Regions from separate parts of the Homo sapiens genome. Here all the other regions are linked to region 1. The links are contacts of gene promoters, found by promoter capture Hi-C in blood cells and fetal thymus (Javierre and others, 2016). All regions are on one chromosome and are shown on one strand. Each heading gives the region's core, a stretch centred on a gene start or on the middle of the fragment in contact. The rest is flanking DNA. Distances are from core to core; before and after follow the strand shown.

What was found. Contacts are between HindIII fragments. The CHiCAGO score rates a contact against its expected background, and 5 or more counts as called.
Region 2: a fragment that was not itself captured here is called in contact with the fragment with the promoter of KCNRG in region 1 in 2 of 17 cell types (total CD4 T cells and total B cells); the score reaches 6.5 in total CD4 T cells.
Region 3: a contact is called between a fragment that was not itself captured here and the fragment with the promoter of KCNRG in region 1, in 1 of 17 cell types (fetal thymus). The highest score is 5.4, in fetal thymus.
Region 4: a contact is called between a fragment that was not itself captured here and the fragment with the promoter of KCNRG in region 1, in 7 of 17 cell types (naive B cells, total CD4 T cells, total B cells and 4 more). The highest score is 11.2, in naive B cells.
Region 5: a fragment that was not itself captured here is called in contact with the fragment with the promoter of KCNRG in region 1 in 1 of 17 cell types (total B cells); the score reaches 6.1 in total B cells.
Region 6: a fragment that was not itself captured here is called in contact with the fragment with the promoter of KCNRG in region 1 in 1 of 17 cell types (total B cells); the score reaches 5.4 in total B cells.
Region 7: a fragment that was not itself captured here is called in contact with the fragment with the promoter of KCNRG in region 1 in 2 of 17 cell types (fetal thymus and total B cells); the score reaches 7.2 in fetal thymus.

What each region holds. Positions count from the first base shown.
Region 1 is chr13:50,013,929-50,016,787 of GRCh38, reverse strand. KCNRG (potassium channel regulator) reads right to left here and starts at 1,344. Exons shown (of 2, transcript NM_173605.2): 1 at 717-1,344. The coding sequence starts at 1,294. It overlaps TRIM13 (tripartite motif containing 13), which reads right to left. Exons shown (of 2, transcript NM_213590.3): 2 at 1-2,859. All of the region lies in intron 10 of DLEU2 (deleted in lymphocytic leukemia 2), which reads left to right. The HindIII fragment of the contact is 12,687 bases long and covers 936-2,859 here.
Region 2 is chr13:50,977,962-50,980,820 of GRCh38, reverse strand. No RefSeq gene overlaps it. Among named protein-coding and RNA genes, the nearest start is that of RNASEH2B-AS1, 69 kb to the right of the region's middle. The HindIII fragment of the contact is 1,672 bases long and covers 597-2,268 here.
Region 3 is chr13:50,961,057-50,963,915 of GRCh38, reverse strand. It overlaps a transcript of RNASEH2B not described here. Among named protein-coding and RNA genes, the nearest start is that of RNASEH2B-AS1, 52 kb to the right of the region's middle. The HindIII fragment of the contact is 4,044 bases long and covers 1-2,859 here.
Region 4 is chr13:50,934,061-50,936,919 of GRCh38, reverse strand. RNASEH2B (ribonuclease H2 subunit B) reads right to left here. Exons shown (of 11, transcript NM_024570.4): 5 at 1,921-2,035. Among named protein-coding and RNA genes, the nearest start is that of RNASEH2B-AS1, 25 kb to the right of the region's middle. The HindIII fragment of the contact is 1,812 bases long and covers 518-2,329 here.
Region 5 is chr13:50,877,396-50,880,254 of GRCh38, reverse strand. No RefSeq gene overlaps it. Among named protein-coding and RNA genes, the nearest start is that of RNASEH2B, 31 kb to the left of the region's middle. The HindIII fragment of the contact is 2,773 bases long and covers 48-2,820 here.
Region 6 is chr13:50,847,626-50,850,484 of GRCh38, reverse strand. DLEU7-AS1 (DLEU7 antisense RNA 1) reads right to left here. Exons shown (of 5, transcript NR_046551.1): 5 at 580-1,948. Among named protein-coding and RNA genes, the nearest start is that of DLEU7, 5.4 kb to the right of the region's middle. The HindIII fragment of the contact is 796 bases long and covers 961-1,756 here.
Region 7 is chr13:50,827,483-50,830,341 of GRCh38, reverse strand. All of the region lies in intron 1 of DLEU7 (deleted in lymphocytic leukemia 7), which reads left to right. All of the region lies in intron 3 of DLEU7-AS1 (DLEU7 antisense RNA 1), which reads right to left. Among named protein-coding and RNA genes, the nearest start is that of DLEU7, 15 kb to the left of the region's middle. The HindIII fragment of the contact is 1,443 bases long and covers 700-2,142 here.

The DNA of each region.
Region 1 (2,859 bases), core at 95-2,594:
AGTTGGTAAAATAATGGTAGGACAGCATTAAGACATTTTACGGGGGGAAAAATGTTTGTGACAGCAGAGTGGAAATCAGCGTTAGGATCCAGCCAAGAACAACAGAGGGAGTAAGTGAAGAATTGACTCAGGAGCAACTATCCTTAACATACTGACAGCCTATCCCAATATTTTGAGTTGTTTAAGAGCCAAGGCTGTAACAGGATACCAAATTTGCCATGAGATATATCTGTCTTTAAGGGTGTTTAAAAATAAAGTCAGCTGAAGGAAAAACAGTAGTTGAATCATAAAACTGAAAGAACAACTTATATAGTGTGTAAGGAACTCAAGAGAAACCAGTGAGCGAGCCTTTATGTGAACCACTGAAACAATCTCTTAAAAATAAGGCAATTCTTTTCTAAGTCAAATTCATTAGCAATGGAACATAATCTACAAAATTATTTTCTCCCATGATTTGAATGTCCATAGTCTCAGTTTTTTCTGGGCAGTCTTCATTTATTCCTTTTGTCCCACCTAATAATAGCCCCTTTCACTCTAAAAAGTATCCCAGTTTGGAAAATAATTATTTGGTCATTCTACCCAACTCCACTGGTTACCCCAAAACATTATTTTGAATAATCATCTTTTCCAGAAGTTACAGGCCTGAGGAACTTCAAGTTTTTAGAGAAAACATCACAAACTGGTATACAAGAGAAATACTGCAAAGTACAAAATACCTGACTCCAGTTTGGTTATCAGTAGTGCTGTCAGAACCACACTGGAAAACCAGGTCATGGTAAGAAGGTCTTTGTGGAGGCAGTGGAAGTAAGGTCATCTGAGGAGGGAAAAAGTTACCATTCCAGGTCGGCGCTGAAGGTTGTTCTGTAAACACTGTAATCCTCCCTGTTAGCATCTCAATTGTTTTGCTGCAAGAGCCAAACACCCTGAAAAAAGCTTGAGTGTTCCGGCTTAGGAAATGTACCTCCACAAGAGCAGGTCTTGGCTGTAGCAGGTATGGGTTTAAGAGATCAACTAGAGAACGAAGTTCATAGAAAAGAGCCTCTCTCTGAAGCCTAAGATAGTCTGAAAATTCAGTGGGTAATAAAAGCTGGTGAGTTCTCAAAAAATCTAAGATGAAACTAAACAAATCACCATCTCTGTCTACAAAAATCTGGCCACCAACCATCTTGAATTCTTGGTCTCTGCCATCTAACATGCGTGCCAAACGAGAAGCAGGAAACTGCTTTATCGTAGAAAACCTTGTCGTGAATATCTTCCCTCCCACATTCAAAGTGACCAGTTCCTGACTACTCATTCTTCCCTCACTTCAAACTAGAGGCTACCATCAGCCACACTTAGGAAATCAACCTATAACCATAAATGTTGCTAGTTATACATGATTATGCAGTGGAGGGGAGGGAAGAATAACAAAAACCAGACTTAGATTCCCAGGAAACTACTGTAAGGTAAATAGTGTATCCATGGCTGTGTTTGCAAATTCGAGTTGCCTGGGAACTTGCAGTATACAAAATGAAAAAGCAACAGATGAGGAACTAAATAGCTTAAGGAAAACTGCCAATATATCTGAAGATAGACATCAAATAGATCCCTTTCCTGTCTTACATTTAAAAACTTATCCATGAAAACCTAGTAAAACTATATATATATATATATATATATATATATATATATATATATATATATATATATATATTTTTTTTTTTTTTTTTTTTATTACTGGGAGGGGAAAAGCATTCTCCCTCCCCATACCTGTCTACCACGCAGAGGCTAGACTTAAACGTTTTTCTTAATTTCTTATGATCTCCTTAGAAATTTAGTGGCTAAATCATGAATTACATGTTAGGAATGAGACAGCCTGGCAAGCTCAATTTGACTATTCTCATAGCTAGAAGGAAATCATTTCTTCTGTGCTTTAAATTTAGTTGCCACCTTTTATCCTGTCCCCATTTTCATTACCTCCTCTCAACCAAATTAGAGGAGGACTGAGGTAAAGAACTCTTATTTTCAGAAAGTCTATTCCACTTAATGGGCTTTCAAGGAATATCTTACTCTATGACACAAATAAGGCAGACTAGAGAGCAGTTATAAGGTTACTTCTTTGTTATATGAATTCTAAGCAAGGTGTTTATTCCATGAGAGGGTATCTTTATCTCTTGTGAGCAGACAGAACAGCATTAGTGTTCAGCTGATTACTTTGTAATAGCTGACAGACTGTTTTATCTGTTGTCAAATTAGTCTTAACTACACTAAACATTCTTTCTGTAAGCAAGTGGATTGGTTTGGTTGTACACTTGCCATCTTTCGAACAAAACAACACATAGCTGCCAGAAAAAAGGTAGTCTTCCCATTTCCTGCTCTTGCCATGTGTTCTATATATACATATATATGTATATATATGTATGTGTACATATGTGTGTGTGTGTGTGTATATATATATATATATTTTTTTTTTTTTTTTTTTTTTTTTTTTTTTTGGTAGAGACTGGGTCTTGCTATGTTTACGAAGCTGGTTTCGAACTGGAACTCCTAGCCTCAAATAATCCTCCCACATCACTGTCCTAGAATGCTGAGATTATAGACATGAGCCACCCTGCCCAGCCAGCTGATCCTTTTTTTTAACCTATCTATGCTTTTGCTTGCATAGCCACTTAACATTTCTAGTTGATCATCTTTGGTGAAAACTACAAAAACAAAGGAGAAAAGGGCAGATTGAAAGCTCCACTCTCCTAAAAATGTAAACTTATCACAAGAAAATGCCAGGTTTTGTATGTACCATTCACATTTTGGTGATAATTAACTCTCTGTAGAAAATTTTGGAAATCTAATTAATTAGTACCTTCAATACCTTTAGTTGTCTCC
Region 2 (2,859 bases), core at 183-2,682, 960 kb before region 1:
TATGCAAATATAAGATCTGCAAGTAATGATAATTTTACTTCTTTTCAATTTGTATATGTCTATTTTCTCTCTCTTATTTGTTTAAAACATTCTTATCATACTCCTGACTTTAATGGTAACACTACTGATATTTCTCCACTAAACATAATGTTGACTTTTATTTTGTATAAATTAGGGAAGTACACATCTATTCCTATTTCACTGAATTATTTTGAGATCAATAATGGCAGTTGAATTTTACTAGGTATCTTTTTTTTTTTTTTAATATAGGAAGGGGTTTAATTGACTCACAGTTCCACAGGGCTAGGGAGGCCTCAGGAAACTTACAATCATGATGGAAGGGGAAGCAAACACATCCTTCTTCACATGGCGACAAGAAGAAGTGCTACCAAGTATCTTTTAAGTATCTAAGGAGATTAATAATACCTTATTTCTTTCTTAGATAACTAATATGGTAAGACTTCTTAATATTGAACCATCTTTATATTATGAATAAACCCCAATTTGTCACATTGTATTATTCTTTTAATGAATTGTTTGAGTCTATTTGGTAATATTTTATTTAATATTTTTGCATTAATATTTACAAGTAAGCTTGTTTTTTTGAACTCTACAATCACCAGGTTTTAAAAAATCAGTATTTTGCTCACCTTTTTGTCCTGTTTAATAAATCTTTCCTGTACCCAAATCAATTTCATTTTGCTTGGTTTTCTTATTTTTAACCTCTGAGCTCTTGTGCTATTATTATTGTCTATCTTCCTTCAAACACATCTTTGTTTCTTTGATGGTTTACATTTTCCCCCATGCCTACCCTGTAGTGCGCCAGCTCAAACAACATCACTTGTCTTTCTGTGACTTCCATGATTCTTCCCTCTCTACTTTGTGCCCAAACTTCATAGAGGTAATTGTTTAAGTATTTTATGTTTGTAGTAAAATGCTTTTTACTATTTTTATCTGCTCTTTGGCAACACTTTATCTGCCATTTACTTTTTCTGGTCTTTTTTTTTCTTGTTTTATGTTTCATATCTTTGAAATAACTTGGGTTTGTTCTTTTTGGTTTCTCATCTTTGAGGCACAAGAGTTTTCCTTGGGCCAAATATTTACAGGGCCTCATCCCAGCCTAGTAGGAATTTTCTTTATAAACCAGGGTTTTGCATGCAAGTTTTAGTTCTATTTCTCCCTGATCAATAAAGACAGGTAGCTATGGGGATTTTTAAAAAGCAACGTCTCTCTTCTTTCCCTCTGCCACTGAGATAGATAGTTCCTGCAAATGTGATGTGGATGTGTGATTTTTTTTTTTTTAACTCCATCACCTCTTCATTTCACAACTAAATTGGGTCTTGGAGAGTTCTTGCTGTTCTGGTGTGTATACTGGTTCCTTCTGTCATAAACATGTGACTTAGACTTTATTCCTCACCTCTGCCCTCTCTGTTTACAAATGTATTTTTGCTGACTCAGTCTCATTTCCACAGCCATGAACTCTTCCTTCCTCTTTCTCCTGGAAGCTCCCCTGCTTTTTGCAGTCCTTCCATCTATTTGTTGTTCATAGTTTAAAATACCTCCTAGTTTTGCTGAAAATTGATTTTTTGGTTTCCATTTCTTATTTTCCTTTTGCTTTGGATGATTTCAAAGAAGAGATTGGGGGTGGGAGGTGGGGATAGAGGATGAACTTCCCACCTCCATCTTCAAATCAGAAACATTAGTATTTCAAAACTTTAGTGTGAGTAAAGGGTAAAAGGCAGCTATTTCTGAAAATCTTTTAAAGAAAAACAATATGGGATTCACTTTATAGAGCACATAGACATTGAAGCCTCAAGGTGGATTTAAAGCATTCGGGGTATTTTCTTAGCTTATCACTTGGGAAAGTCATCTAATCTTTCTAGGCCCCATTTTTCCAATGAAGGGGTTTGACAAGAAGATTCCTAGAGCCTGAAGACAGAACAGACTAGCCTTGAAGCCCAGTGTTCTCTCCTAGAGAAATATACAGAAGCATGCAAGCCTGTCCTGCCTGAGATTCATGGGCTGGTTACACTCCAGCCACCGCTGCCTCTGTCACCCTGCCTTCTACTCTAGCTCCATGGCAAATATTTAAAAACCAGACCTTTTCATAGGCATCATACTGATTTAGTCTCTAATCATGAATCCAACCAAAATATCTGGATCCTCTCTGCCATCAGTCCATGGTGACCAGATCTGGGCTGTGTTAGGGGTCATTGCATTCAGCCTGTACTCTGGAAATTACACTCCCAACATTCATTTACTAAAGCTTTAACAAAATTATTCAGACAAACTATCCATTTAAAAAGTAGACTGAGTAGTTATCTTTGAAGACCCAAGGAATCTTTACCCAAGATTAATAAGAAAAAACAAACTGAAAAAAAAACTGGTGATTTTGTTCACATTAAAAAAAAAATGCTGCATGTTAACCATCTGTCATGGTTTACTAATTAAATCACTGCAACTAATCTTGTATTAATATTTTTTTAAAGTTAAAAATGGGTTTCCTGAAAATGCTTAGAATTTCTGTGGAATTGCTTAGAAAGTCTTTTTACTTTTTGAACTTCCTTGGCCTTATAAAACTGTCAGCAGAGCAAAGTAAGGGCCAGTTTTCTGCAGCCATAACTCCCCCATCTCTTTTACAAGTCTTTATTCTTCGGAAATATAAAGGGTTGTGTTGAAAAGCATTAACTGGGGGCCGGGCGCGGTGGCTCACGCCTGTAATCCCAGCACTTTGGGAGGCCGAGGCGGGTGGATCATGAGGTCAGGAGATCGAGACCATCCTGGCTAACAAGGTGAAACCCCGTCTCTACTAAAAATACAAAAAATTAGCCGGGCGCGGTGGCGGGCGCCTGTAGTCCC
Region 3 (2,859 bases), core at 94-2,593, 950 kb before region 1:
GGGACTCTTACAAATTAGAAAACACTGAAGAGATGTGGCAGCTAAATGCAATGTACCATCACAGACTGAATTCTGAAATTAAAAAAGTATTAGTGGAAAGATAGGTGAAAGTACAATAAGGTAAATTTTCTGGTTTTGATCTTTGTAGTATGGTCATGTATGCTAATACTGAGGGAAGCTGGGTGAACATCATATCTAAACTCTACTATTTTTGTGACTTTTCTAGAAAAGTATAAAATTATTTCAAAATAAAGTAAAAGAGAGAGGAGAAAAATAGACCTAGAAGATAGAAAATAACAAAGATAATAGAACTAGCAAATGAGGACATTTAAGTAGCTATTTTAACTATATTGAAGTATTTAAAGAAAACTGCAAGCATAATAAGAACAGATACGGGAAGACATAAAGAAGAACCAAATGGAACGTCTAGAACTAAAAATTACAATATTTAAGGCCGGGCGTGGTGGCTCAGGCCTGTAATCCCAGCACTTTGGGAGGCTGAGGTGGGCGGATCACCTGAGGTCGGGAGTTCAAGACCAGCCTGACCAACATGGAGAAACCCCATCTCTACTAAAAATACAAAATTAGCCAGGTCTGGTGACGCATGACTGTAATCCCAGCTACTTGGGAGGCTGAGGCAGGTGAATCACTTGAACCCGGGAGGCGGAAGTTGCAGCGAGCTGAGATTGTGCCATTGCACTCCAGCCTGGGCAACAAGAGCGAAACTCCATCTCAAAAATAAATAAATAAATAAATAAAATTACAATATTTAAAGTAAAAATTAAATAACTAAGGTTAACAGAAGATGAAATGCTATAAATCAAAGTAAACTTGAAGATACACCTAGAAACTGTCTAAAAATGGAACATAAAAAAACAAACAACCAACAAAACAGAAACTCAGTGATAGGACCTGGAGGACAATACCAAGTGTTCCAGCATACATGAAATTGGAGGCCAGAAGCTGAGGGGATAGGGAGAAAAGGGAGGAAAGAATGGAAAAAGGTATTTAAAGAAATATTGGCCAGAAATTTTCCATATTTGATGAAAATTAAAAACTCAAAAGTTCAAGGAGCTTAATACACTCCCAAATGAGATAAACAAAAAGAAAACCACATCAACACATCATAGTCAACTTGCTGAAAACTAGTAATAAAGAAGAAAATCTTAAAAGAACCCATGAGGAGGAGACACATTATGTAAAGGAGAAGAAATATAAGAAATATCATAGATGTCTCATCAGAGATTATGCAAGCCAGAAGACAATGATTCTTTGAAAGGATCAATGAAATTGACAAACCTTTAGCTATACTAACAGAGAAAGCAAAAAGAAGACACAGATGACCAACATCAGGTATGAAAAAGGGAATATCACTACAGATCCACAGACATTAAAAGGATAATAAAAATGTGATGAACAACTTATGCCAATAAATTTGACAACCTAGATCAAATGGATACATTTCTTGAAAGACATAAATTACCAAAACTGGCACAAGAAAAAAAAAGAAAATTAGAATAGCTCTTCATCTATTATAGAAATTGAATTAGTAATTTAAAAGTTTCCCCCAAAGAAAATTCCAGGTCCAAATGGCTTCACTGGTGAATTGTGTCCGACATATAAGGAAGCAACAACACCAACCTCACACAAACTCTTTCAGAAAATAAGTGATGAAAGAATACTTCCCAACTCATTTTATAAGCCCAGTTTTACTCTGACATCAAAATCAGACAAAATCATTACAAGTAAAGAAAACCACAGACCAATATCCCTCATGAACAGAGATACAAAAAAGTACTTAACAAAATATTAGGAAAAAAACCCCATACTACATATAAAAAGAATAATATACTGTGACCAAGTAGGGATTATCTCAAGAATGCAAAATTAGTTTAACATTCAAAAATCAATCATTATAATTCATATATTAAAAGACATTCCTCTATTAAAAAGAAAACTACTTGATCATCTCAGTAGATACAAATTATTTGACAATATCCACATATGATAAATACCTATATATGATAAAAACTCTCAGTGAACTAGGAACAGAAGGAAACTTTCTCAGCCTGATAAAGGGAATCTACAAAAAACCACACACATAGATAAATACTGATAGATACATGGATAGATTTAGAAATGTTGATACGAGTATATAGTGTATATATGTGTGTGTACATGTTGTACACACACACACATTTCCTAGCTTTGGCTCCTAAGCAATGACATACCAATAGCAATGAGCATACCTACTGCCTAGATCTTGGTTTCTAAATACCATTCTTCACTGAAAGGAACCAGGGTTCTTTGAAAAAAAGGTGGATTCAGGGCTTGCACAGGACAAGAGGCTGAAACTCCAGTCGCAGAAGCAGGAATGTATTAAAGAATGATAGAAACATACCCAAAAGATACACAAGTCAGCTTGAAGGGTCTCCCACTAGCTCTTCTGAAACAACATGAGCATTAAAATTAATAATAATAATGCAATATAGCCCACTGGATAAAATAAAAATCTATAAATCCATACTGTTAAGAATTCATAAATGAGGGAAGAAGCAAGGAAAAGGGAAAGTTCTTCCTTACAGAAGAATGCCAACTGATAAATATAGAAGAAATGAAAGTTAGAAAATCATCAGATCCTAAAAATAGTGGGCAAACATCCGATAAGAAATAGGATACTTACAAAGTCCCAGAATACTTACCCACAAATTACTTATTAATTATAAAAATAATCAACAATAATTCACAATGAAAACTGTAGGCAGCACCTTAATCAAGTGATCAAAGTCAACAACACTGATATTGGGATAGACTGTGATTCCTGCCATGGTGTACTGAGAAAGACATATTACTCCTGGA
Region 4 (2,859 bases), core at 174-2,673, 920 kb before region 1:
AAAGGAGACTAAGACAAGTTCAGATAATGATGCAATAAATGGTCAGGAGTTCGGTGTACAAGAGGGAAGGGATGACACAGAGAGAGCCTCTTGCTCTCGGCTGCAGACTGTAAGGAAACAAATGCTGAGGCACTAACATTGTTTCTAAATCTGGATTTCTGGGTTTTAAGATGATTGTTCTTATACAGCTAATAGCAGAATTCTGGACAATGAGTTAACTGCATTTTCAGCTTGCATTAAGTTGACAAAAATTAACATGGCTTAATTAAATTATTCTTCATTACTTTATCTTTTAAAAGTGGTTATGGGCTAATTCAGGTCACCCACAAAAAGACTGCTGTCTTCTGCCAAACTCAGCATCAGGGAATGTCTTTAATGGAACTGCTTTGATAAAACCCTGGCACCATATACCCCTCAGTTCCAAACTGGAGCTCCAAGTGTGGCCAAGTATGAATTTACTGGACCCCTTAAACATAAAATGCAATCAATAAGGTTCTTCTCTTTCCCACTGTAAGCTTACACTTCTTGGAATCACCACTTTCTTGGTCCCAGAAGAACTGTCATAGTTGGCCAAACCATCTATGACCCAAACAGCCACAACTTATCAGCCTGATGCTCTGGTTCCCACACTTTGTTTCCATATTAACCCTGAAACTACTTGGATGATTTTTTAAGACACCAAAGCCAAGTTTTTATACTATTTCTAACCTGTCAAAACACATTCACACACACTGCCTTACTTTTCCCTCTGAAAAATTAAATGAATGATAGTGAAAACGCATCTCTTCATTACCCTATCCTGCTCCTCCAGCCCATGTTCCCTGTGTCCAGGATCCCACCACTACACATCCTTTGGGTCAGGCACAAACCGAGAAGTCACTCTTGACTCCTCCTTCTCCTTGACCACCACCCAACAACCAGATGCAGTTGGGTCCATCTCTAAATGGCTACTTTCTTCTTGTTCTATCTCCTAAGATCAAGGCCACCATTATCTCCTGTCTGGATCACTGCAACAGCCTTGGTGGACCTGGCTTCTCCAATATACTCTCCACACTGCAGACTGCCATGCTTAAAACTTCACAGACACTCCACTACCATTAAGCAAAGTCCAAACACACACAGGGCCCTTTACCATCTGGACCCATGCCCAGCATTCCCGCCTCATTCCTTACCAACCTACATCCTTCCCCAGAATCCTATACTTTGAACTCCTTGGAACTTCCTGAACCTGACAAACTTTTCCATACATCTGAGCCTCTGTTACACTGCTTCTCTGACTATCCTTCAGGACTCCATAAAGAGGTCATTTCCCCCAGGAAAGCAACACAACATCTACCCACCTACATTCCCCACCCAACCCCGCCAGATTAGAAACCTGTCCTGTGCATCCCCAGTAAATTCAGAGTTCACTTCCGTTACACTGTGCGGTCACTGCTCAGCTTGTCATTGACCCCCATCAGACTGGGCGCAAAGTGAAGAAAAGGACAATGTCTTATTCATAAGTATCTAGAGCTTAGCACTAATGTGCAACATATGCTTTTTGGAAGGTGCTCGATAAATGCTTCCATCTATTAAGGTACAGGTTTTACGTAATTTTACAATGAGACATCTGAGGCAGAAGGCAGCTGAGTGACTTGCCTGATGTCACAGAACTAGTTCAAAGAAGAAGTGAGACTGAAGCCACACCTTGTGATTCCTGCCCTGTGGACGTAGGCCCTAGACTGCCATGGTTGTAGTTCCAAAGACTAAACACTCCAAAGCAATAGAGGAACAGTGCTGGCAGTGTTAGCAAATCTGAATGATAGTTTTCCCTATGGTGGACACAGAATAAGCCTTACATTCAGTGTGTCTGTAAGCAGCCACGTTCTTAGGCAAGGTCCATCCTTTCTACCAGCCATAAGCCTTTAAGTTATACCATACCTTTTTCCTCTGTCACATGATGAAGTAACTTCTCAAGTCCAGGAAGTTTCAGCAACAAGATGCAATTTGGAAACACGTTATCCACCACAACTTGATCAAGGGGCTGAAACTTCCCCTGAAAAAACAGTTAGTTGGAAAGCAAGCATTTCATTCAACAAAGACATTCAGAAAAAAAGAGAAAAAGACACATTAACTCATGGCTGGGCCTTTAAACTTAGTGCAGAAGCCACCTATTCCATCTAAGGAATCCCTACAATGGGACAGGCTCTAGGACGGACCCCAGCTCCCTTCAGGAAGCTCCTGTGAGCACTGGAGTCCCACACAGCACACCATCTACCTTGGGTGTACAGTCCCCAAATGAAATGGGGAAGAAAATCAATCTACAAAAGCACTGGAAGCCACAGAAGCTTGCAAAGATGGTGGAGACTGCCTGGGGATGGTCCAACCCATTCAATTTGAAGAACCAGCTGTGGTCACAGAGCAAGAGTCCTGACTGTCACATTGGAACAAGCCCAGACCAGGCCCAGACATACATCTGCCTCCCCATCATCACTCTAGGGATGATGAAAGAAGCACCCGCCACAAAAAGAAAATACAAAAGTGAATCTACCCCTGTCAAAGCTGCCTCACAATGCTTCCAAATTTAGACCAGAATAAAAGAAAAGACAGCCAGAGGGAGAAGTCATGGGAAGCTGCAGACAGGCTAAATCAGGCTCAGCCACAGAAGTTTATATGGCCTGGTTGCCAGTGGGCCAGAAGTGCAGACCATATGGATTCACAACATCATTCTTTGGAATTAGGTCTAGTTTTTCGTAACTGTACTAGTAGCAAGTAGAGGTGAAGTTTGTCTAAATTAAGGTATTAGCCCCCTGATTTGGGGACACCAGACTGTACCAGATGTATGGCCTTGCCCATGACCCACTTCTAGCTCGCTCTACC
Region 5 (2,859 bases), core at 185-2,684, 860 kb before region 1:
GCCATCCTGGGCTGCATGCAGCCTGCAGGCCATGGGTTGGACAAGCTTGACTACAGCTTTAAAGTGATCTTAATCTAATCAATTCTTCCCCATTCAGAAGAAACCTACTACATCAGAGTCTATTGAGAATCTATCTCCCTAATCACCCTCAGGCACAGGGTTATTATGTATTGATATCATACACACTAAAAAATTCCATCATACAGGTCTAGAAATACTTCCATAATACAGTAATATTTTAATAGAGTCATAACACACAGACAGCCACCCATTCTGCCTGTAGCCAGTCATGGAGCAATACATTTTGTACATAACCTGTAATTTCTTCTGGAGAGTGTAATTACAATGCCAATATGACATTTTATTTTTATTATTATTATTTAGTTAGTTAGTTAGTTACTTTTTGAGACAGAGTCTCACTCTGTCGCCAGGCTGGAGTGCAGTGGTGTGATCTCGGCTCACTGCAACCTCTGCCTCCCGGGTTCAAGTGATTCTTCTGCCTCAGCCTCCCGAGTAGCTGGGACTATGGGTGCCCACCACCACACCTGGCTAATTTTTGTATTTTTAGTAGAGATGGGGTTTCACCATGTTAGCCAGGATGGTCTAGGGGTTGATAAACTACAGTGCACAGGCCAAATCTGGTTTACTGCCTGATTTTGTAAATAAAGTTTTATTGGAACACAGCCTTGCCCATTTATTTACTTATTGTCTCTGACTGCTTTCATGCTACAATAGAGTAGTTGCAACAGAAACTATAGTCTGCAAAGCCTAAACTATTTACAACCTGGACCTTTAGAGAAAGTTTGCTGACTCTTTTTTTAATGGATAAACTAAAAGTATGTAAGTAAACATGATTTCATGTCTTATGATATGTCAGGTGAATGGTACAATCCTTTGGTTTAAGTTCTTAGTATTATACCTAAAGTATATCTACCATGAAATGCATTTTCCACCTTTCATAGTCTCAGCTGGTTAATCAAAATAAATGGATTCTATGGCATAATTCAGGATGTTACCATTTTTGCTTTTTAGATCAGCTCTTCACCCACTGTTTTCCTGTCATACACATGGTGTTCTTAAAATTGTAAATGAAAACTCATTTGAACTTACATTAGTAACTTCTGTTAAATTATACTGGATTGCTTATTAAGTAAGCATTATTATCCACATTAAATCTGTCACAGATGAAAAAATTACACATAAAGGAGACTGCTTGAGGCCCCAGGGCATGCTGTAATATACATAGAGGCTCCTGAATACTTGGTTTTCCATGTGGATCTCTGATTTTGCTGAAAGAAGTCTGTAAACTGATGTAGTCAGACAGCTCCCCACTGGCTACACATCTCTATAGAATTTAGAAGCATTGTTTATTTCAGCAGAGGTCTGGAATGAATTTTCCTTATAATTTAACTCCTGAAATGACTGTTTCAAAAGGTCAACTGTGGTGAACTTGCATATGTGACTTGCAGTCACAGCTAAGTCACGATCCCTTAGTTTTTCCAGAAGTCCACTAGAACGTTAGCTCCATGGCACTGTTATCTTGCATCTCCAGGTCCTGAAACAGCCCTTAGTGCATACTAGGTATTCAATAACTTTTTTTTGAATAAATGTTTTATGTAAATTCCATCACAAATATGGAAGATCTTAGAGGGGATTTTTGAAAACCAAAGAAAGTTGAAACTCCTTCACATGGAGTTTGGATGTTGAACTTAGAGGCTTGACTTAGCCATTTTTAAAAAACGAAATGTGTGTGTATGTTTATTTAAGGTACCTTAGTGACAGGTACAACCTACAGCCCAAAGACAATGTACAAAACCCAATGAGGGGACAAGCCTCCACTCTTTTATAAGATGCAGAAATTTGCAGGAGTCTATCACTCTTACTCTAACCATGAGAACAGACCAGAAGCACTACAAATGACAGTTTTATTTGTTGTTGCTTTCATTTGCATGTTTCACACTCATCAGAGAACCCAGGAGCCAAAAAAAAAAAAAAAAAAAAGAAAAAAATCCCTCAAATTAACTACATTTCCAAAAGGATCAAGCTCTTCCTAGAGAGAAGAGTCCCACAGCTGCTTTTGTTCCTAGGGACATGTTGGAAGGAGCACAGAAGAGGAAGGGAGAAACCAGCCTATCTTTAAACAAATTTTGGATGATTGTATATGGGTTGGCATAACAGAGTAGAATCACAAGGTACCCCAGGAATAGAACTAGTCTGTACCCACCCAGCCTCCATTGAGTGGATGGGAGTCGTACACTGAAAGCTGGTGCCAGGGTAGGAGAACTGAGAAATACCCTCCCCAGGTACACCAGGTCTTCCCAAAGTACAAGAAAGTAGCCCACTGAGCACAGGAAGCAAGGCAGGAGAAGCAAGAGGGATTCTCCAAGGCATGTGAGGTTCATCCATTGCAAGGCAGTCCCCATTACACACTGGGGGTAAGGCAGGAAAGCTGAAAGAAATCCCCTCCTAGAAAGCACGAGGCTTTCACCAAATGCAAGGCAGCAGCCTGCAGTAGCCAGAGGCAAAGCAGGAGAACTGAGAGAAATAGATGCTCCCGAAAACCCTTTCAACTCTCCAATCCCCTCAACCCTACCCACCCACCTCACCCCTACCTCCACCCTCCCTACACAAGGTCTCTACTGAGTACATTGTAGCCACCTATTGAATGCTGGAGGAAGAGCTATCTTAAGGCTCTGAGATGTGGAGGCAGAGTTTAGGCAAAGAAAAGGCCCCAGCAACCCAAGAAGTTGGTGGCTGGGCTGTAAGGCATAAAGAGAACTCCCACAGTTTGGAAAGTTGGGGGCTGGGCTGTGTGAAGCTTGGAGAACTTTCCAGAGTCTTACTGTCTCTAGGATTCCA
Region 6 (2,859 bases), core at 109-2,608, 830 kb before region 1:
TAGACTATAATATACATGATGGATTCATCATATGTATTATATATTTTACCCTGTCATGGAATAATAATTACTCAAAATTCTTTAAAAATAAGCCACTGTTAAATAGATTGTACATTAAAATGAACATAGAGAAAGTATTCGATTTTTGTTCTTAGCAAAAGTGAGTAGGACATTAAGAATCACCTTCAATGCTTCTTTAACAAATTACCTATCATTAACTAGAAATGATCCATCAAGTCTATGATTTAAACTTTTGAGAAAGTTTAGATTTTTGAACAGAGGCATTTAAGATCCTTATGAATGTGGTTTCAATTTTCAAATGGAAAGTACAGATAAAATAAAATGTACATATGATTTTTTGAACAAAAGCTTGAAATTTGATTATTTCTGTGGACCATTTGCATTTTACGGTCAAATCAGCATCTTTAAGATCCACTTGCTAATTAAGAGTGAATATTAGAGAAACAGATGATGATAATTTAAAAAGAGATATACTTTATGCTAAAATATATATATTTTTATGTAAACATACTTTAAAATATTTTATATTTTTTCCTCCAAGAAAAAGAGTCAATTCAATCATGTTCAAGTATTTATTTTAAAAACATATTTTACCTATGTCAACTCTTCTGACCATTCTTAACAATATTTTGAAACAAAAGTGATCAAAATGATCAAACAAATAAAATAAACACATCTGTTGGCTTCTCTTGTTTTCCTAGCACAGACAGACAATGTGGGAAGGCTCTAGTCCAGTTTTCAAAACTAGTTTAGTTCTCCCTTGCTGCACTCAGGGTTTAAGAGTTGGAGATTACATTGAACCTCCCCAGATGAAGTTTTGACTTCATGAATATACCCATAGTGATCTTGTAACAAAAGCTAAGCAAAAGAACCATGTGGCCCCTCAACCCCCTCTCCTTGCCCCCTTTTTTCATGGTAATTACCATAGGAAAGGAAGCTTTGGAAAAACAGACGGAAGAGAGGAGCAGATGAAAGAGTAGATAAAACTCCAATGTCTGCTCGGCCATAAAGCCTGCCAGAAAAGAACTTGGAGAACAAGAGGAGAAAATTCCTTAGAGGAAAAGAAGTGTGTAAGGGAATGAGGATGAATGTAAGGAAAGGTACAGAGAAGATTTTTTAAAAAATTTAAATATAACACCGGGTGTGGTGGCTCACACCTGTAATCTCAACACTTTGGGAGGCTAAGGTGGGCATGGGCAGGTCACTTGAGGTCAGGAGTCTGAGACCAGCCTGGCCAACATGATGAAAACCCACCTCTATTAAAAATACAAAAATTAGCTGGGTGTGGTGGTACATATCCATAATCCCAGCTATCCAGGAGGCTGAGGCAGGAGAATTGCTTGAACCCGGGAGGCAGAGGTTGCGATGAGCTGAGATTGTGCCACTGCACTCCAGCCTGCCCGACAGAGCAAGACTCTGTCTCAAAAATAAATAAATAAATAAAAATAAAAAATAAAAATAAATTTAAATATATAGACCCAAGTCAAGCATTTCTTTCCATCACAGTAAAAGGGTACCTACTGAAACTTGAAAATACAGGATGATCCTGGAAAGTGATAAAGGTGGTCACATTTTTTTCATTAAGGATCCTAGAATTTAGTTGGCAAAATCACTGAAACTCACTTGACCTTTCTCTTCTCCATTTTTATCACTACTACTCTTTCTGCCACCTCATTTCAATACTATAAGCCATATCTACACAGATAATCAAAATAGTTCAGGAAACCAAGAAGCTTTCTTGGTTTTCTCTCCAAGTGAAATTTTTCCAAGTAAATTTTTCTCTCCAAGTGAAAGGATGTTCCGCAGGGGTTAGATTTTATAATCCAAAATGGAGGGGGAAATCCAGCAAGGTTGTCTTACTGAAATGTAGGCAGCATGAAAATTCATGGCATTCCGTCACTCTTAAACTTGAAATCATCCACCAAAGCTACAATAATTAGAAAAAATTATATTGACTTTTAAAAAATCCACTTTTGATTTTTTTCTGCCAATATCAATAATTCTCCTTGGAAATAAACTAACTGATTACTAAGCCGAAACCAAATAACTGATTATTAAGACAGAACCAAGCACAATGATTTATATGTCCAGAAAGAAATGCATTTTGTGTTGACAAATTGCAAAGGCGCAAATGTACATCAGATGACATCTGGACTGGCAGGTGAGAGTTAACATTTTTAACTTATTTTCTTTCCCTTTACCCACTCTTGTCTATTTTTCTTCTCTAGCTTCATTAAACTTCACCAGCTTCACAAGGTCTGGGAAGGTAGTGCATATGATGTTCTGAAAGCACACCATCCTATGTAAACAATTGTTTTTGGCAATTCAGAGACTTCAGGGCGGTATTGCGTCTTTGTTTTATCCACCAAAATCAAATGTTTAGGCCAAAGTTAGAAGGGCACGTGCATTTACTTTTATAACTTGGCATATTCAAACATTACAATGGTACGTTTAAAAAAAAGAATTTGGTCTTTTTTGCTCTTTCTTTCTTTCTTGGGCCTACACCTTGTCCTAGTTCCATTGTTTTCTCTTTGACAGTACATTTTCATATCTTGGTGTATCTCTTCAGCATCTGTTTCTCCTCAATCATAATTTTCATTCACGAATAATAACTCTTTGGTCTCTTTGGACATGTTTTGTTCTGACCTCACCTATGAACTTCACCAGGGTGCGCTGAAGGTTAACAGCTCTATTTCTGGAATTCTCTTGGATCCTTTTTGAGGAAAAATGCCAAAGAATATAAACAGGGCTCAAATGTATCTGGGCTCTGCCAAGTCCTTTGAGGACAGCTCCACAGAACTGTACCTTCTGCCAGCTCCCTTCGGTTCTCATTGTGCC
Region 7 (2,859 bases), core at 172-2,671, 810 kb before region 1:
TGATACACATTTGAAATAAATTTAACTAATTCATTTAGCTGAGTTAAACAGGCCAAGGCCATTACCCCAATAGATCAGTTGAGTTACATGAGAGTATCTCAACTGGCTTAAAAATGTAAATGCTGGCCATCAATTTGGACTGCTGTAGTAATCAATACATTTCATATCCAGAGTCTGAAATTACACAAGGCTTTAGAAGTTTCAAAACCTGCTTTTAGATTGCTCAACCATGTAGTTCTAATTCTGGCAAAGTACTCAAAGCATCGTGTAGGATATTACATCATTTCTGGGAGCATCTGGGATTTGCTAAATAAAAGCGGCTGGGAGGATAGGCTTTGTTGTTGAATGGAAAGCATCCTAAGTGAAATCATCACCAATATTGATCATGTGAGTTTCTACTGAAAGCCCATGAGCCATTTAATATACTATTGCCTTAATGCTGTGACTTGTGACCCCTACCTTCCATTGCAGACTCAGCAGAAGTTTGGTCGAAGGCAATGATTATTGGATCCAGAGTTGGCCTTCAGACCTTCTGGAATGGTAGAGAAGCACACACCTGTTTTATTTTTCCCTACCCTGGCTTAAGAGTCCCACGGAAAGCCTATTCCTATTAATTTGTTTTCTTTGCTAATATATTTGAGAAAGGATAAAAAGGAAATACTGTACTAGAATAGTAAAATAAAGTGAGTTTGCAAAGCTTGCCAGAGATCTGAAGTTTGCCCAGGGCCTCAGGGACCAGTACAGCCCAGCAGTCGAATTTTATTGTACATGTAATTTCCCCAAGCAACACCTTCTTTGATTCTTTACAGTAAAACATGAAATTGACTTCAGGTTTTCTGCCCACAACTATATTTTTAAAGGCATTTTAGTCTTCTTTGGGTGATGAATTCCTTTGCATACTGGCTAATAGGCACATGTCAGCACACGTTTTAGTGGTTCCTTCTATTTTGAATTTCCCCTTGCATGTTTTCTTTGATCCTTATACTTTGTAGTTAGTATTGGATTACTTCTATAAAGCAATCGGACAATTTTCCTTGATGTGGATCTTGAGGAAATAGTCCAGAGTGATTTTTCTCTCCTACTTTCCCATTCCCTAGCAGTATGCTTCAGCACACAGGCCACCCCATAAGCTATGGGACAGGTCATCTACAGCAGGGATGTCCAATTTTTTGGCTTCCCTGGGCCACATTAGAAGAATTGTCTTGGGCCACACATAAAATACACTAACACTACTGATAGCTGATGAGCTAAATTTTTTTTAAAAATCACAAAAAAAATCTTACAGTGTTTTAAGAAAATTTACAAATTTGTGTTGGGCTGCATTCAATGCCATCTTGAGCCACAGGTTGGACAGGCTTGATCTTAACAGCTCTTTGACACCTTCTGGGCAGAAATGAGCAACACACAAAGGTAGGGAAGCAAGAATGCTTTAAAGAGAAAAGAACAAAAAGTATGGTAGCTTGCGAATCCTTGAGCATGGTATGGTTCTGTCCTGGCACCTAGCTCGCAGGTGGTCCTGCTGCCACTGTTTGCTAAGTTGAAATGAACATTGGTTTTGTTTCTGAGGGATGTTTTCTAATAAGCACTTTGTCAGAAACCCAGGTCCTTCTCGGTCAAAAAACAGGGTTTTTCATAGGGAGAAGAATAGTTTCCCCTTATAGACAGAATTAGGAAGGAAACTCTGGTCCCTCATCAAACTTTGGTTCAACTTTTAGTTCTTCCTTCCATTTTTTTTGAGTGACAGTATCTGTTTCTCTTTTCCTACATTATTGAGTTGAATTTTTAGCTCATGGATTTTCAGGGATTATTCTTTATTTACATAATCATTTAAGTCAAAGTGTTTCTCACTGTGGCTACATCCCACAAATTTGTGATATAGTTCAGTATAAAGTATTTGAAACTTTCAATTATTTTTTCACTGATCCATGAATTATTTAGAAGTGGGTTTTCTAAGTCACACATGTTTTGGGAAGGGTATCTATGTTATTGATTTCTCATTTATTTGCATTGTGATTTGCATGATAGAGTCTTTCTGATATTTGTTGAGATTTGCTTTGTGACATTATAATATAGACAGCTTTATAAATAGTCCACATATGTTTGACAATAATGTATATTTTCTTATTTCCATTGGCTCAAGCTTGTGATTAGTGTTTTTCAGTCTTTCTCTGTTTTGTTGTTTGATCTATCTAGTTTCAGAGGAAGCTAGGTTAAAATCAGCTTGTATGTGTGTAGACTGAATGTATGTTATGATTATCATATTAGGGACATACAGGTACAAAATTGTGACATCTGCTTGGGGAATCATTCATTTTATTAGTCATAGTTTTATTTCATCCCAAATAATGATTTTTTTTGGTTTTATTTTGGCTTCTCTTTGCTTGGCATATATTTAAATATCCATTCACTTTCAATCTTTATGTGGTTTTAGATTTAAATGTGTTTCTTGTAAACAGCATATAAAACCAATATAGTAATCATTATCTTCCAAAAGGTGAGTTTATTGCTTTGCACTTGTTGTGCTTTCTGATATGTGTAGGCTTACTACTATCTTTTTTAGTGCTTTCTGTTTACCTTGCCTTATGTTTGTATCTTTATTTCTCAAGTTTACTTTCTATATACATAAGGTCAATAATCTGTTTTTTCTTTTTCTTTGAGACAGGGTCTCGCTCTGTTGCCCAGGCTGGAGAGCAATGGCATGATCATTGCTCACTGCAGCCTTGACCTCCTGGGCTCAATGTGATCCTCCCACCTCAGCCTCCTGAGTAGCTGGGACCACAGGTGCATGCCCTCTTGCCCAGATAATTTTTGCATTTTTTTTTTTTTTTAGAGACAGGGTTTTGCCATGTAGCCCAGGCT